Linked DNA regions of Homo sapiens: region 2 is linked to region 1. The links are contacts of gene promoters, found by promoter capture Hi-C in blood cells and fetal thymus (Javierre and others, 2016). All regions are on one chromosome and are shown on one strand. The core of a region is centred on a gene start or on the middle of the fragment in contact, and the rest is flanking DNA. Distances in the headings are between cores, read along the strand shown. Region 1 holds the start of METTL21C (methyltransferase 21C, AARS1 lysine). Region 2 holds the start of BIVM-ERCC5 (BIVM-ERCC5 readthrough).

Region 1 (7,005 bases), core at 2,705-5,204:
TTGAATCTTGACCATAGATACACAGTGATGGATGGTGACTGCAGTTGTGACCTTCAATGGCAATGTTTAAACAGAAGGTCCATGAACTCCTGCTGCTGATATCTCTGGAACCAGAGCAGCCCTGGACCCTTTATATCTCAAGGCCGATGTGTTATAGGACCAACAGGTTCATATGCCCACTGTGTAGTAACAGGCCAATGCACTGAGACAGCCAGGAGGCAGCAGAGAAAGAGTTTAATGATTGCAGGGCTCCTAGTGAGGAGATGGGAGAAGACCCTCAAATCCATCTCCCCGAGAGTTCTGAGTTGGGGTTTTAAAGGGGATCTTGGAGGATGAGGGGCTGGAAAATTGGGGTCATTGATTGGTCAGGGTGAGGAGGATGAAATTATCAGGATGTGGAGCCTGTGTGCTTTGGTGAGTCAGCTTCTTGGGGGGTCCTTCAGACCTGCTGATGTGGGTGGTTTTAGTGGCATGTAGGACGTGAAAGAATATCTCAAAGGAAAACAACATTTCATAAGGTTCTAGTTGTTATCTCTAGAGCAGATAAGGGGATCTATAATCTTGTAACAGGGTCTATCTGATTCTAAGACAACAGACAAACAACAACAAGGAAGTGCGTCAGAGAACAGGCCGACCTCATGATCCATGCTGCGTGTGCTGCAAGCTCATTTTAGTCTCATTTCTCTCCCTCCCTTCTTCCCTGATGAATAAAGTTTATTGGGATGGTTTCAGATGCTCAGCTTTTCCATATGATTAGGTGAGTGATCCAGAACCCTTCCAAAGAACCCTGTGGACTCAACCCTCTGTTTGAACAACATACAAGATAATATGAGACATTTATTTATCGAGGACCCTCTGAGCACCTGGCACTGTGCCAGATTCTTTCAGATATATAAAATTTCACTTGCTCCTGTTGATTCTGGAAAGGAGCAACGGCATCTTATGAAGCTGTAGCAGATACTGTCCTGGCCTCGCTCATGTGTGTCAGATGTGTTGGAGTGCCCTGGCTGCTGCTCTGCATGTGTAGCTGAGGTCCTGCTGGAAAAATACCACCGGAGCTCTCTGCAGCTGGAGTGGAATAATTCTGAAGTGTGTGTTTTGCCTCCTTTCCCAGTGTCTCCCCATGGGGTTAAGCTCTGGTCGCCTGCTCCTGTTGCTGGTCTTGTGGCACACACGTGGCAGGATGTCACCCTTTCCCTGGGTTGCGTCCACTTTCCTTGCTGTGTTATTCACACTCCCCAAATAAAATACTTTCACTCAAATCCCTGCCTTGGAGTCTGCTTCATCGAGAAACCAGACTAAGTAAGATGGGGGCTTCTGGGATGCTTGGAAGATGCAGCTCAGGGTTGGTCCTGTGTTAATCCCTCTATCAATGCAAATCCACCTCCACCGTATAGACGAGAACACTGAGACACAGGGGAGGCGGGAACAACTCACCTGACATCACTCAGTCAGTAGACACCTAGGCTGGTAATTGTGGTTTACCCTTCATGGCAATGCTGATCCTTTGCCTGGCCCAGGGTGGCTTGACCTTTGCACTGTGGACATTCTGAGCTGGGTAATTCTTTGCTGTGCGGGGCTGTCCTGTGCATTGTAGGAGGTTTTGCAGCATCCTCCGTGCACTAGATGCCAGGAGCATCCCACCCCCTATTGCGATAACTAATAATGTCTCCCCCAAATTGCTGAATGTCCCCTTGGCAAGAGGGGAGGACTCCCCCTTGAGAACCACAGCCCAAGAGAGCCAGATTTCATAGGAAAAAAGGCAGTGCCCATCCTGACAGAGAGAGGCGAGTGACAGCACATGAATAGCCTCCTTATTGAGCCTTTGATCCAATCTTGTATCTTCTGACTCCAAATCTGGCCCACTTTCCATTATGTAGGCTTCTTGGGATCAATTGTTCCATTGTTCTACTTGTTAGAAAGTTCTTTCCTGTTGAGCCCAAATCTGCTTCCCAGTAACTGACTTCATCAGCGTGCCCTCCGAAGCCATGCAGGAGGACTAATCCTTTTCACCGGCTGCACTTCAACTATTTGAAAACAACTTGTGTGTCCCTGCCCTGTTCCCTCCCTGCCCTGCCCCCCGTCAATCCCTTCCTGAACCTTTGGAGTCTTCCCGTGGCTGCTTGGGCACTCAGAGTTTCGCTCAATAACAAATTCAGCAATTACAACACCTACTATGTGCCAGGAGCTACCATATGTCAGAGAACAATTCTCAGACAGGGAATTCAGACTTCTTGGTTCCTTCTCACACCTGCAAACAAGAATTGCCAGAGCCTGGAGTTGACGCATGTTAAAGCTTCCGGGTGATTTGGACATAGCCTCTGCCTACAGGTAAGTCCAGCATTTAAGAGCCTTTGATCTACCGTGGTCTAGCTCCAGGCAATAGAGCTCTGATGTATATCTTAAAGCAGCTATCTAAAAGATGGCTTTGAAGAAAGTATTAAAAAGGAACTGTTTTTTAAATTATTTATTTATTTATTTTTATTATACTTTAATTTCTGGGGTACACATGCAGAATGTGCAGGTTTGTTACATAGGTATACACGTGCCATGGTGGTTTGTTGCACCCATCAACCCATCATCTACATTAGGTATTTCTCCTAATGCTCTCCGTCCCCTAAGTCCCCCACCCCCTGACAGGCCCAGGTGTGTGATGTTCCCCTCCCTGTGTCCATGTGTTCTCATTGTTCGACTCCCACTTATGAGTGAGAACATGTGGTGTTTGGTTTTCTGTTCCTGTGTTAGTTTGCTGAGAATGATGGTTTCCAGCTTCATCCATGTCCCTGCAAAGGACATGAACTCATCCTAAAAAGGAACTCTTAATAGGATGCTAGGTTAAAGAGGTACATGTTTCTATCAAGTCACATTTTCAGTAAAATAGCTTTAAAAAAGTTTATACAAAAAAAATAAGCCTAGAAGTTGATACAAAAAAAAAAGTTGGTGAGGTTTCTTTCTCTAGATAGTAGAATTAAAGGAGATCAACATTTTTTCCTTCGTCCTTTGCTTCATTTTAAAGCTTGTAGAATGAACGCATATGTTTGTCTATGTGTGTGTCTACATGCATATAAATATACACACATATATTCACGTACATTGCAATCAGTTTTTAAAAGGTTTTTGTAGAATTGTACTGATGACTATCTTTTTGCTATTTCTCATAGGGACTGATGACACCTGGAAGAAATAAGTTGCAGAGATGCAGAATGCAATCATAGAACTAGATGCATTTGGGGAATAAGAAAGCATTAGAACGATAGAGCTGGAACAAATGCCGGCTTATCCCCAGTCATTTAAGAAAGTGGGAAAGGTGATTTACATGGGACCACAGCACATCTAGATGAACATCCTGAGTGAAAAGAAACTGACATAAAGAACACAAAATAGTGACACCAGAGAAACGAGTACCGAGGGTGGGTACAAAAACAAAAATGGGCTTTTATATCTACTCAGGTTAAAACACCATTCATCCAACTCCCTGGTTGAATGTAGCCTATCACAAGTGATTCTTTAATTCCCATTTGTCTGAGGCTTTACTTTGTGTGACCTATATTCTATTTTAAGGGTTTCTGAGCTTCACAAATGAGCACATGATTTTTCTCCTTCCCTTTTGACTATCCCTTATTTCAGTTAAATAAATCACAATGGCTTACTTTTTCTTGGAAGAGTTTTTCTGATTTCCTCTTCCCTCTGCTCTAAATCCCCCAGATTCAACGTTAAGCCTTTGACTCCCGTCCCTTCTCATGGATAGATGCTCTCCTTTCTTCCTCCCCAAAGCATTCCCTTCCTCTTGGTAGATCCTTGTGTTCTTTCTGGCTGCCTGGATACGGGTCCTAGGCAGAGGCTGGGTGGGCATGTCCTCCCTGTGGCTACTGGAGTTTGGCAAATGAGCACAAAATTTGCAAGTCTGTGCAACTGTCCAACACCCACTTCTTTGAAAAGTGAACTGGAAGTCTAACGTTTCGAACCACATCGCAGCAACTGGATGCCACAGGGGCAGCCTCTGTTCTGTTCCAGTGATATTCCTGAAACTTTTGAAGGGAATTCCATTGAATGTTGCTAGGACTGTGCGTGTGTGTGTGTGTGTGTGTGTGTGTGTGAGAGAGAGAGAGAGAGAGAGAGAGAGAAAGAGAGAGAATTCTAGCAAAGTAATGTGTCTATGAGGACTGGTAGATAATGCTACCCTAAATAACTTGGGCTTCCACTGGCTGGATTTTGTTCATCAAATGCTAATCCTTTCAGGTGTAGACCTATATAAAACACTGGGGATTAAAGAGTGCACAGAAGCCTCACATCTCTTCTGCTGCATAAGGTAAAGATACGTGTAACAATTCAAAATTATTTTGGGCATACTAACAAGGAGTCATTTCCAATTCTGTATTAATTACGAACATGCGATGTAGATCATAGATGTGCTGAACTAGTAACAGTCAGTCAGTAGATTATAGTCGTTCTTTTGTAGATTGCTTTTCAATGCACAGCTGTCTTTGGGACAGCCGGCTATGGACGTGTGTCTGAGCTCCGCGCAGCAGCCTGGGCGCCGGGGGGAAGGACTCAGCTCCCCGGGTGGCTGGTTAGAGGCTGAGAAGAAGGGGGCTCCGCAGAAAGACAGCACCGGGGGAGTCCTAGAAGGTAACCTCCTTCTTCATCACTTCAACAGTTTTCCTCAGTTGTTTTCCTGGCGATGACATCTTCAAGTAAATTTCAGTGACAAGAATTTCCATTTCCTTTTAACATTAGATTTTTTGCTATAATGAAGCTTAGCAGAAAAATGTTTTGCAAGTATAAACATAATTCCTGTTTTTTCATTATTTACTTATTAAAAGTAATTCCTGGTTTTTCATTACTTATCAAAGTTTGCACATTTGTTTTTTTTCTATGTATAGATCTAAGCTTGCTGTATTTTTGTAACAAGAACTTAAAAGAAGAACAAAAAATCTAGGTTCATTTCTGCTTTTCACCAAAATACATTCTTGGTAGCTTTGTCATACAGTGAATCTTTATAAATCAAACTGTATTTCCCCGTTAGGACAATGTAACAGTTTAGGGTTACATTTCTGGGCATGGATTCAGTTGTAAATAAATAATAGACATAACAAATGATCTAATAAAAGCCAAGATGCAGCATTTACAGTGTTCATAATTAAAGGTGGTAAAAAATGTATCCCAACTCCAATAAATGAGAATGTTGTCTATTTTTACTGCATTGTTTACGTAAAAATGCAACTCTACCTTATCTGAAAATCTGATCTCTCTAAAACTATCAGAATAGCACAGAGAATAAATGAAAATATTTCAGGCACAAAAACATATGTTTCTTTATCGTTGTAGAACCTCACAGGGTCTTATGAGAGAATACGTGTATGTCTATGTTTCCTTACAATGTTGATTGGAAAAGTGCAGCTGTCAAGCTTAATATTTGTCAGTTTATTTACCTGTGAAATGATGAGCCATTCAAAATCAGCCTACTTACTCTTCCTAGTCTCTAGAGAAAAATAAGTCCCCAGATGGTGACATTTGGAAGGAGGGACAGGCATGGCCTGGATGAGAGTGGGGCAGGGCAGGGAAGCCGGCAGGGGCTGGTACAGGTCCCTGATGCTCTGAGCCACCACCCAGTGGTGTGCTGGCGACGGCTTGTACTGGCACCTGAATTTCAGCATTTTTTGTAGCTGATTGTTATATATAACCATCATTTAAATTTAAGTTAGAATCTTATGATTAAATAGATTATATTAAAGACAAAGGTATATTAAAAGCAAAGTTGATAAACACTCAAAACTCATCATCAATTATTCTATTACCTCTTCCTAATATCTATGCTCTCGAGGTTAATCGTGTCTGTGGTGTCTGTACGGTAGGAACACTACACAGTGGCGAGGTACTGCACGTCTTTCCCCAGCGAAGTCATGCTGCTTCTCTGAAAACGGCACGGTGGGAGTATTTACTCCAGAGCAATCGTCAAACGCTGTCAATCACCGCTTCTTCCCCTCTTGCTGAACTAGTTATTAAACATTAATCACCCTATTTTTCGGCCTTCCTCCTGCCTCTAAACCAGAATTCAGAGCCAGCCTCTCAGCCCTGTGTTGGGAGCTGGGGTTCTGCTAGATGTCAGTGGCTTCCCAAAAGAGGTGGGGAAAGCTACAGGGCTCCCTCCTTTCCCTACAATCTCCCTACAGCCTCCTACCAGGGCAGGTGACCGCAAAGGACAAGGTCTCAGGACTGAATTGGTTACCTTTATTAGAGGCGTCTTGCAAGTTCACTGAGGTCCCAGGTTTCTGGAAGCTCACCTTTTTTGTCAGGGCAGAGAATTCTCCTTCAAAGTGGTAGAACATACTAAATCAAAGTCACAGGCTAAAACAACACTCTGAAGAACTGAAGGCACCCATGATGCTAATTTACAAATGAGTCACTTCATTCACATTTTTTTTTTAGTGTGCTGCACACTGATACTTTTGTAATATACAACAAAAATGAATTTCTAGAGAAATTAAATGAAAATATATACAGACATATAAAATACAAGCTCCGGGTTTTGTTTGTAGTTAGATTCAACAGGCATCGTCAAATGGTTGTGACTGTTTCTAAAGGCTCACTCCAAATCCCTCTACTTACTGTGGAGCTGTTATCAGCATTTGCAGAGCAGTGGCAGGGAACTGTTCCAGTGTGTATGGAATGAGTGAGACCTGAAACACCCGGAGGCCCTGCCCCCGACCTGAGGGATGCCCTGCTGACCAGGTTTCTCCCAAGACCCACTTCCCTTTGCCTCGTATTCACCTCCTCCTGCCTTCCACCTTGAGAGGCTATTTCAGATTAAAACACTTCCAATGTTCACCGGCTGCCCCCTTCTACCTTTGTCCAAAGCCCATATTTGACCCCCGGTTAAACATTTTACAGTCATATCCCAGGCCACAAAGGCAGGTTTCGTGCAAACAAAACTGACCTTCCTCCCCCCTACTCTCCGCACTGTTAATTCTTTCCCACCCGCTGGGACCAACACCTTTTCCTCTG
Region 2 (7,005 bases), core at 1,323-3,822, 110 kb before region 1:
AGTTTTTGTATTCTATATGATTTATGAGACTAATACATTTTTGAGAAATTATTATTAGCTTAAAAGCTAGTAGTAGGCCAGGAGCAGTGGCTCATGCCTGTATTCCCAGCACTTTGGAAGGCCGAGGCAGGAGGATTGCTTGAGCCCAGGAGTTCAAGACCACCCCTGGCAACATAGTGAGACTCTATCTCTACAAAAAAATATTAAAAATTAGCCAGTCGTGGTGATGTGCACCTGTAGTCCCAGCTACTCAGAAGGCTGAAGTGGGAGGATTGCTTAAGCCTGAGGTCAAGGCTGCAGTAAGCCATGGTCGTGCCACTGCACTCCAGCCTGGGCAAGAGAGCAAGACCCTATTTCAAAATAAAAAATAAAAATAAAAAAGCTATTATTATAATAACTTTGGTTTGTAACTCCACATTTTGTTTTCCACATTATTTAAGAGATTAATACATAAAAATTATTAGTTTATGTTTTCAGACACACAATATATAAATTTGTAATTTGATAACATCAATAACTGAAAGTTAAGTGTGGACGAAGCAGTATAGGAACAGAGTGTTTACATATAAATAACAAGTACTAAAATGACAAGTCTCTCCTTATCAGTGATTACTTCAAATGTAAATGGATTAAATTCTCCACTCAAAACATAGAGACTGGCAGAATGCATTTTTTTAAAAATATGTTTTTGTATACGTGGGTTCACACACAAAAACAGAAACAGAAAAAATTAGCTAACTATATGCTGTCTCTGAAACACTCACTTTAGATCTAGAGATACAAATAGGCTGAAAGTAAAAGGATGGAAATAAGTATTCCAAAGCAAATAGCACCCAGAAGAGAGCAGGGGTGGCTATAAATAAACCAGTCATAAAAAGACAAATACTATATGATTTCACTTACATAAGGTACCTAGAATAGTCAAATTCACAGTGACAAAAAGTAAAATTGTGGTTTCCAGGGACTGTGAGGAGAAGGAATGAGGATTTATTGTTTAATGGGTACAAAGTTTATTTTGTAAGATGAAAAGAAGGGCTGGGCGGGGTGGCTCACGCCTGTAATCCCAGCACTTTGGGAGGCCGAGGCGGGCGGATCACGAGGTCAGGAGGTCGAGACCACGGTGAAACCCCGACCCTACTAAAAATACAAAAAAGTAGCCGGGCACGGTGACAGGCGCCTGTAGTCCCAGGTACTCGGGAGGCTGAGGCAGGAGAATGGTGTGAACCCGGGAGGCGGAGCTTGCAGTGAGCCGAGATCGCGCCACTGCACTCCAGCCTGGGCGACAGAGCGAGACTCTGTCTCAGAAAAAAAAAAAAAAGAAAGAAAAGAAAAGGAAAGAGATTTGGAGATGAATAGTGATGATGGTTGCACAACAACGTAAATGTACTTAATGCCACTAAACTGTACACGTAAAAATGGTTAAGACAGTAAATTTTCTGTTATTAGACATGTATTAGTTTTTAAAAAAGAAATTAAATGGAGAAAAGACAACTTCACAATCATAGTTGAAGATTTTTAACACCCTTCTTTTGGTAATTGATAGAACAAGACACAAGTTAAGCGGAGACACAAAAGATGTGAATGACACTTTCAAACACTTCGACATAATTAATATTTATAGATACTCCCAATGACTGCAGAATGCACATTCTTTTCAAGTGCACATGGCACATTCACCAAGATAGACCATATGTTGGGTCATAAAACAAGTCTCAGTAAATTTAAAAAGACTGAGAGCATATGCCCTCTGTCCACAATGGAACTAAACTAGAAATCAATATTTAGAAAAACTATTAATATCTAGAAATTAAACAGCATACATCTAAGTAATACATGTATCAAAGAATAAATTGCAAAGGAAATTAGAAAATATTTCCAATTAAGTAATAATAATAAGCATATCAAAATTTGTGAGCTGCAGCTAAAGCAGTACTTAGCAATTTGGAGTATTCTATGCTTATGGTAGAAAAGTCTAAAATCAATGATCTAAGCTTCCATCTTAAGAAGTCAGAAAATGAAGAACAAAATAAACCCAAAGTAAGTCAGAGGAAGCAAATAATAAAGAGCAGAAACCAATGAAATAGAAAACAAACAATTGAGAAAATTAACAAAAGCTAGTTATTTGAAAAGATTAACAAAATTGATAAACTCCTAGCTAGATTGATCAGTTTTAAAAAAAATAGAGAAAATAAATTAATTACCAGTATTAGGATGCAAAAGGAGTTGTCAACAAAGATTCCTTAGATGTTAGAGGGATAACATTAACTTTAAGCCCCCAAATTTGACAACTTAAATGACATGGACAAATTAAAATTTGTCAGAAATTAACAGAAATCAAGACAACTCCATAATTATAAATACAGATTTTAATATCTCTCTGAAAATCCTCAGAAAACAGGAGGAAAAAACACTTCCCAACTTTTCTTAGAAGATTTGCATAGCCCTAATTCCAAAACTGGCCAAAGGCATTAGACAAAAAGAAAATTGCAGACTCATTACCTACAAATTTAGACAAAAAAAGCAAAATCCCCCTCCTACCCTTAAGAATTACAAATTTACCTAAAATTCTATGAAACAAATTGATTTTGCAGATAAACAAGCAGAAGCATTAAGGTTTTATAAAATCATCAGAGAAGACTAGAAGTAAATACAAATCCTAGTTTGACCTCCTCTTATTAACTCTGCAACTTCGGTCTAGAGATTTATCCCTTCTAAGCCTCAATTTCTTCACCTACAAATGGGGCTAACAGTACCTGCCTCATAAAATTCCTGTATTACTTTGAATTCAAAAGAAAGAAGTGTAAAGTATTTCTATCTGCCATAGGACCACCCCATTGCAACTGTGAAAGTTATGCACAACCTCGGTAAACAGCATCCTCTTAAATTGAGCAGTACACAACCCACTTGGTGGTACATGGAGGCTTTGCTGGGTGCCTAAAAAATTTTAACAACAAAAAAAGCTAAAACATTATATAGCAGGAAAAAAAGATGTTTGGTCAGGAAATACAACTTCATGTGCCTATAAAACTATGAAACAGTAGTAAGTTATTCTAGCCATGTTATTAACATTTCATTTTCTAAGCTACCATCTGTTTATAATATTTTACATTATTAGATTTTCAAATCTCTCAAAATATTTGATACAAAGCTTATGCTTGAAGTTTCCAGTGGAAGCCCCGCAATGAACTACATGCCCTACGTCAAGGTTACTTTCCTAAAACTACATTGACAGACAAGATGATAGCCATGTTCCTTATCTAGTATTATACAAGGAAACTATGTGTAATGGCAAGATTAAACAAGACATAGTGTTTGTTTTCTCATTATTTTCACATATGAACTTCATGGCTCCCTCCTTACCTGATTTGTGTTTCGAATTTGTGGTCACCCCATCAAATTCAGATTTATCAATTTCCCATGCGAGAGGTAGCTTGCCCAGGCTGTTGGATAAGTTTTCCAAGCTATTTTCTTCATTGTAGATAATTTCCGATGTACTAGTCGGGATACCAATGTATCTTGATGAATTATTTCCAGCAGATAAAGAGGTACTATCAGGGAGGCAAGGAGAGCGGGATGGATTTGGAGTTTTATAGATTGAGGTCGCCTGGTTGAGAAAGGCATAGTCCGAACAGATGGCATAAATTTTTTCCCGTGTATGAGTCACTGGACAACTCCATGGATAATGACCATCTCCTTTGGGACCCAAGGGTGCTCCTGAGGCACTTGTGCAGAAAGATTTTACAGCACCTTGTAGATTCTCTTCAGGTGACTTTCTCTCAGATTTGTGCTCACCATTTCCAGAATCATTTGACCTTTCTGTTTCTGCAACGTTAGGCATTGAATGCAGTGTAAAAGTTTCTATTACTAGAAACAAGTTGCAACTCTATCTGTTTCTTGATAAACAACTTTGACAATTGTTTACAGCATGCTATAAAAGCTTGAGAGCTGCAAAATGAGCTCCTAAGAGGAAGGAAAAAGAATGATCAACAATCCACCAGATACACAAAGAGCCACTAAAAAGCATAGCAAGTTTTATGCATACATATGCCTTCATTCTATATTAATTTTACAACTACTATATGACTGGAGTCACAATCACTATCTTATTTTTTAAATTAGTCTAAAATATGCATTAAATTATTTTCAAATAATTAAAAAATAATTAAAAAGCAAATAGCCCAATTTTTTTTTTTTTGAGATGGAGTTTCACTCTTGTTGCCCAGGCTGGAGTGCAATGGCACAATCTCGGCTCACCGCAACCTCCGCCTCCCGGGTTCAAGTGATTCTCCTGCCTCAGCCTCCCAAGTAGCTGGGATTACAGGCATGCGCCACCACGCCCGGCTAATTTTGTATTTTTAGTAGAGATGGGGTTTCTCCATCTTGGTCAGGCTGGTCTCAAAATCCCGACCTCAAGTGATCTGCCCACCTCTGCCTCCCAAAGTGCTGGAATTACAGATGTGAGCCACCATGCCCGGCCAGCAAATAGCCCAATTTTTAAAAATGGGCAAAGTATCTGAATAGTGTCTTCTCCAAAATCAGTACAGAAATTGCCAATAAGGCCAGGCGCAGTCACTCACACCTGTAATCCAGCACTTTGGGAGGCCAAGGCAGGTGGATCACTTGGGGTCAGGAGTTCGAGACCAGCCTGGCCAACATGGTGAAACCCCGTCCCTTCTAAAAATACAAAAATTAGCCAGGCATGGTGGCACATGCCTGTAGTCCCAGCTACTCAGGAGGCTGAGACATAAGACTCACTTGAACCTGGGAGGTAGAGGTTGCAGTGAGCCGAGATCGCGCCACTACACTCTAGCCTGGGCAACAGAGCGAGACTGTATCAAAAATAAAAATAAATGGCCAATAAGCACATGAAAAGATGCTCAGTATCATTAGCCATCATGGAAATACAAATCAAAACCACAATGAGATTAACACCTCACACACGCTAGAATGGCTATAATCAAAAATGTTGGTGAGGACGTGGAGAAATCATAACCCTCATACATTGCTAATGGAAATGTAAAATGGTCCAGTTGCTTTGGAAAACAGTTCTTCCAACAATTAAACAGAGTTACCATATGGTCCAGCAATTTCATGCCAAGGTATATATCCGTGACAGATGAAAATACATCTTCACACAAATGTTAATAGCAGCATTATTCATAATGGCCAAAAAATGGAAACAACCCAAATGTCCACCAACTGAGGAATGTATAAATAAAATGTGGTATATCCATACAATGGAATATTATTTGGCAATAAAAAGAAATGAAGTACTGACCCATGCTACAACATGGATGAACCCCGAAAACATTATAGTGAGTAAAAGAAGATCGTCACAAAGGACCAGATAGTGTATTATTCTATTTATATAACATGTCCAGAACAGGCAAATCTATGCAGACAGAAAGTAGATTCATGGTTTCCTAGGGCTTGGGGTTTGGGGGTGATGGAGTTTCTTTTTGTAATAATGATAATATTCTATAAATGATTGTGGCAATGAACACACAACTTGTAAATACCCTAAAAGCCAATGAATTGCATAACTTAATGGGTAAATTATATGGTGTGTGAATTATACCTCCATAAAGTTGTCTAAAAAATAATGTATTAGCAAGATTTTTTACGTACATAGGCATAAAGGATACATGATGAATAACGGCCACAGATTTAAATAAACACAGAATACAGAAAGTAAATTTTCCAAAGATTCATCACCTGACAGAAAAACGGATCCAATCAAGGTGTCACTAACTTCTGATCAGTTTCAGGAAAAACTGAATTTCAAGTCTAAACTGATTCCTTTAGGGAAGAAAACAGAAAGCTTAAATAGCAACTGAGGGCATGCAAGGAAGCTGAAGATTTATACCAGAGGAAGTCCTTGGTGAATTGAACCATCCCAGGACACGCAGCAGACAACCCCAGGCAGGTGCCCGGGCAGGGTATGCGGGTTTCTCAGGGCTCCAGCAACAGAGCATCAGTTGAGAGATTCAGTCCACCCTGGGTGATCAGTTGGACTTTTACCAGTTAATATCTCTGCCCATTTGCTTACTTAAAAAATTAGAAATAAAAATAACTGTCATGGGTTACCAAAAATAGTATCAAAACCATCATACAAATATTGAACAACGAAAGCCTATGAGTTAGGCTGCAAGAAATAGAAGACGATTCACACAAGAGCCCCCTAGGTTATCCTGATCTGTGAGGAGAAACTAGCAAAGGTACTGCATGGCTTTCATGGAATTTAAGGAAACAGAGCTGCATATTAGGACTCCACATATGCTAGGCAAAATTCCATTTTCTTTACTTTTAAAGCATGCTTTTTCTCTATTCAAACCTTCAGTTTTTAGGCCTGGTGTGGTGGCTCATGCCTGTAATCCCAGCACTTTGGGAGGCTGAGGCGGGTGGATCATTTGAGGTCAGGAGTTCAAGACTAGCCTGGCCAATATGGTGAAACCCCATCTCGACTGAAAATTTAAAAATTAGCCAGACAGTAAGGGCCGGGTGCAGTGGCTCACACCTGTAATCCCAGCACTGTAGGAGGCCGAGGCGGGTGGATCATGAGGTCAGAGTTCGAGACCAGCCTGGCACACAGGGTGAAACCCTGTCTCTACTAAAAAACACAAAAAAATTAGCTGGGCATGATGGCGCGCACCTGTAATCACAGCTACTTGCGAGGCTGAGGCAGGAGAACGGCCTGAACCCAGGAGGTGGAGGTTGCAGTGAGCTGAGATCCTGCCATTGCACTCCAGCCTGGGTGACAGAGTGAAACTCCATCTCAAAAAAAAGATAAAAATTAGCCAGGCGGTAGTGACGCATGCCTGTAATCCCAGCTACTCGGGAGGCTGAGGCAGAATTGCTTGAGGCTCGAAGGTGGAGGTTGCGTTGAGCCAAGATCGCGCCACTGCACTCCAGCCTGGGTGACCTGCACTCCATCTTGTCTCGAAACGAACAAACAAACAAAAAACTCTTCAGTTTTAAAATAATTTGTGCAGAGTTTATAGTTGT

What was found. Contacts are between HindIII fragments. The CHiCAGO score rates a contact against its expected background, and 5 or more counts as called.
Region 2: a contact is called between a fragment that was not itself captured here and the fragment with the promoter of METTL21C in region 1, in 9 of 17 cell types (naive CD8 T cells, total CD8 T cells, non-activated CD4 T cells and 6 more). The highest score is 7.9, in naive CD8 T cells.

What each region holds. Positions count from the first base shown.
Region 1 is chr13:102,691,993-102,698,997 of GRCh38, reverse strand. METTL21C (methyltransferase 21C, AARS1 lysine) reads left to right here and starts at 3,954. Exons shown (of 4, transcript NM_001010977.3): 1 at 3,954-4,629. The coding sequence starts at 4,500. The HindIII fragment of the contact is 1,740 bases long and covers 3,019-4,758 here.
Region 2 is chr13:102,804,101-102,811,105 of GRCh38, reverse strand. BIVM (basic, immunoglobulin-like variable motif containing) reads right to left here. Exons shown (of 11, transcript NM_017693.4): 2 at 5,716-5,799; 3 at 3,361-3,960. The coding sequence starts at 3,838. It overlaps BIVM-ERCC5 (BIVM-ERCC5 readthrough), which reads right to left and starts at 3,960. Exons shown (of 23, transcript NM_001204425.2): 1 at 3,361-3,960. The coding sequence starts at 3,838. The HindIII fragment of the contact is 1,157 bases long and covers 1,994-3,150 here.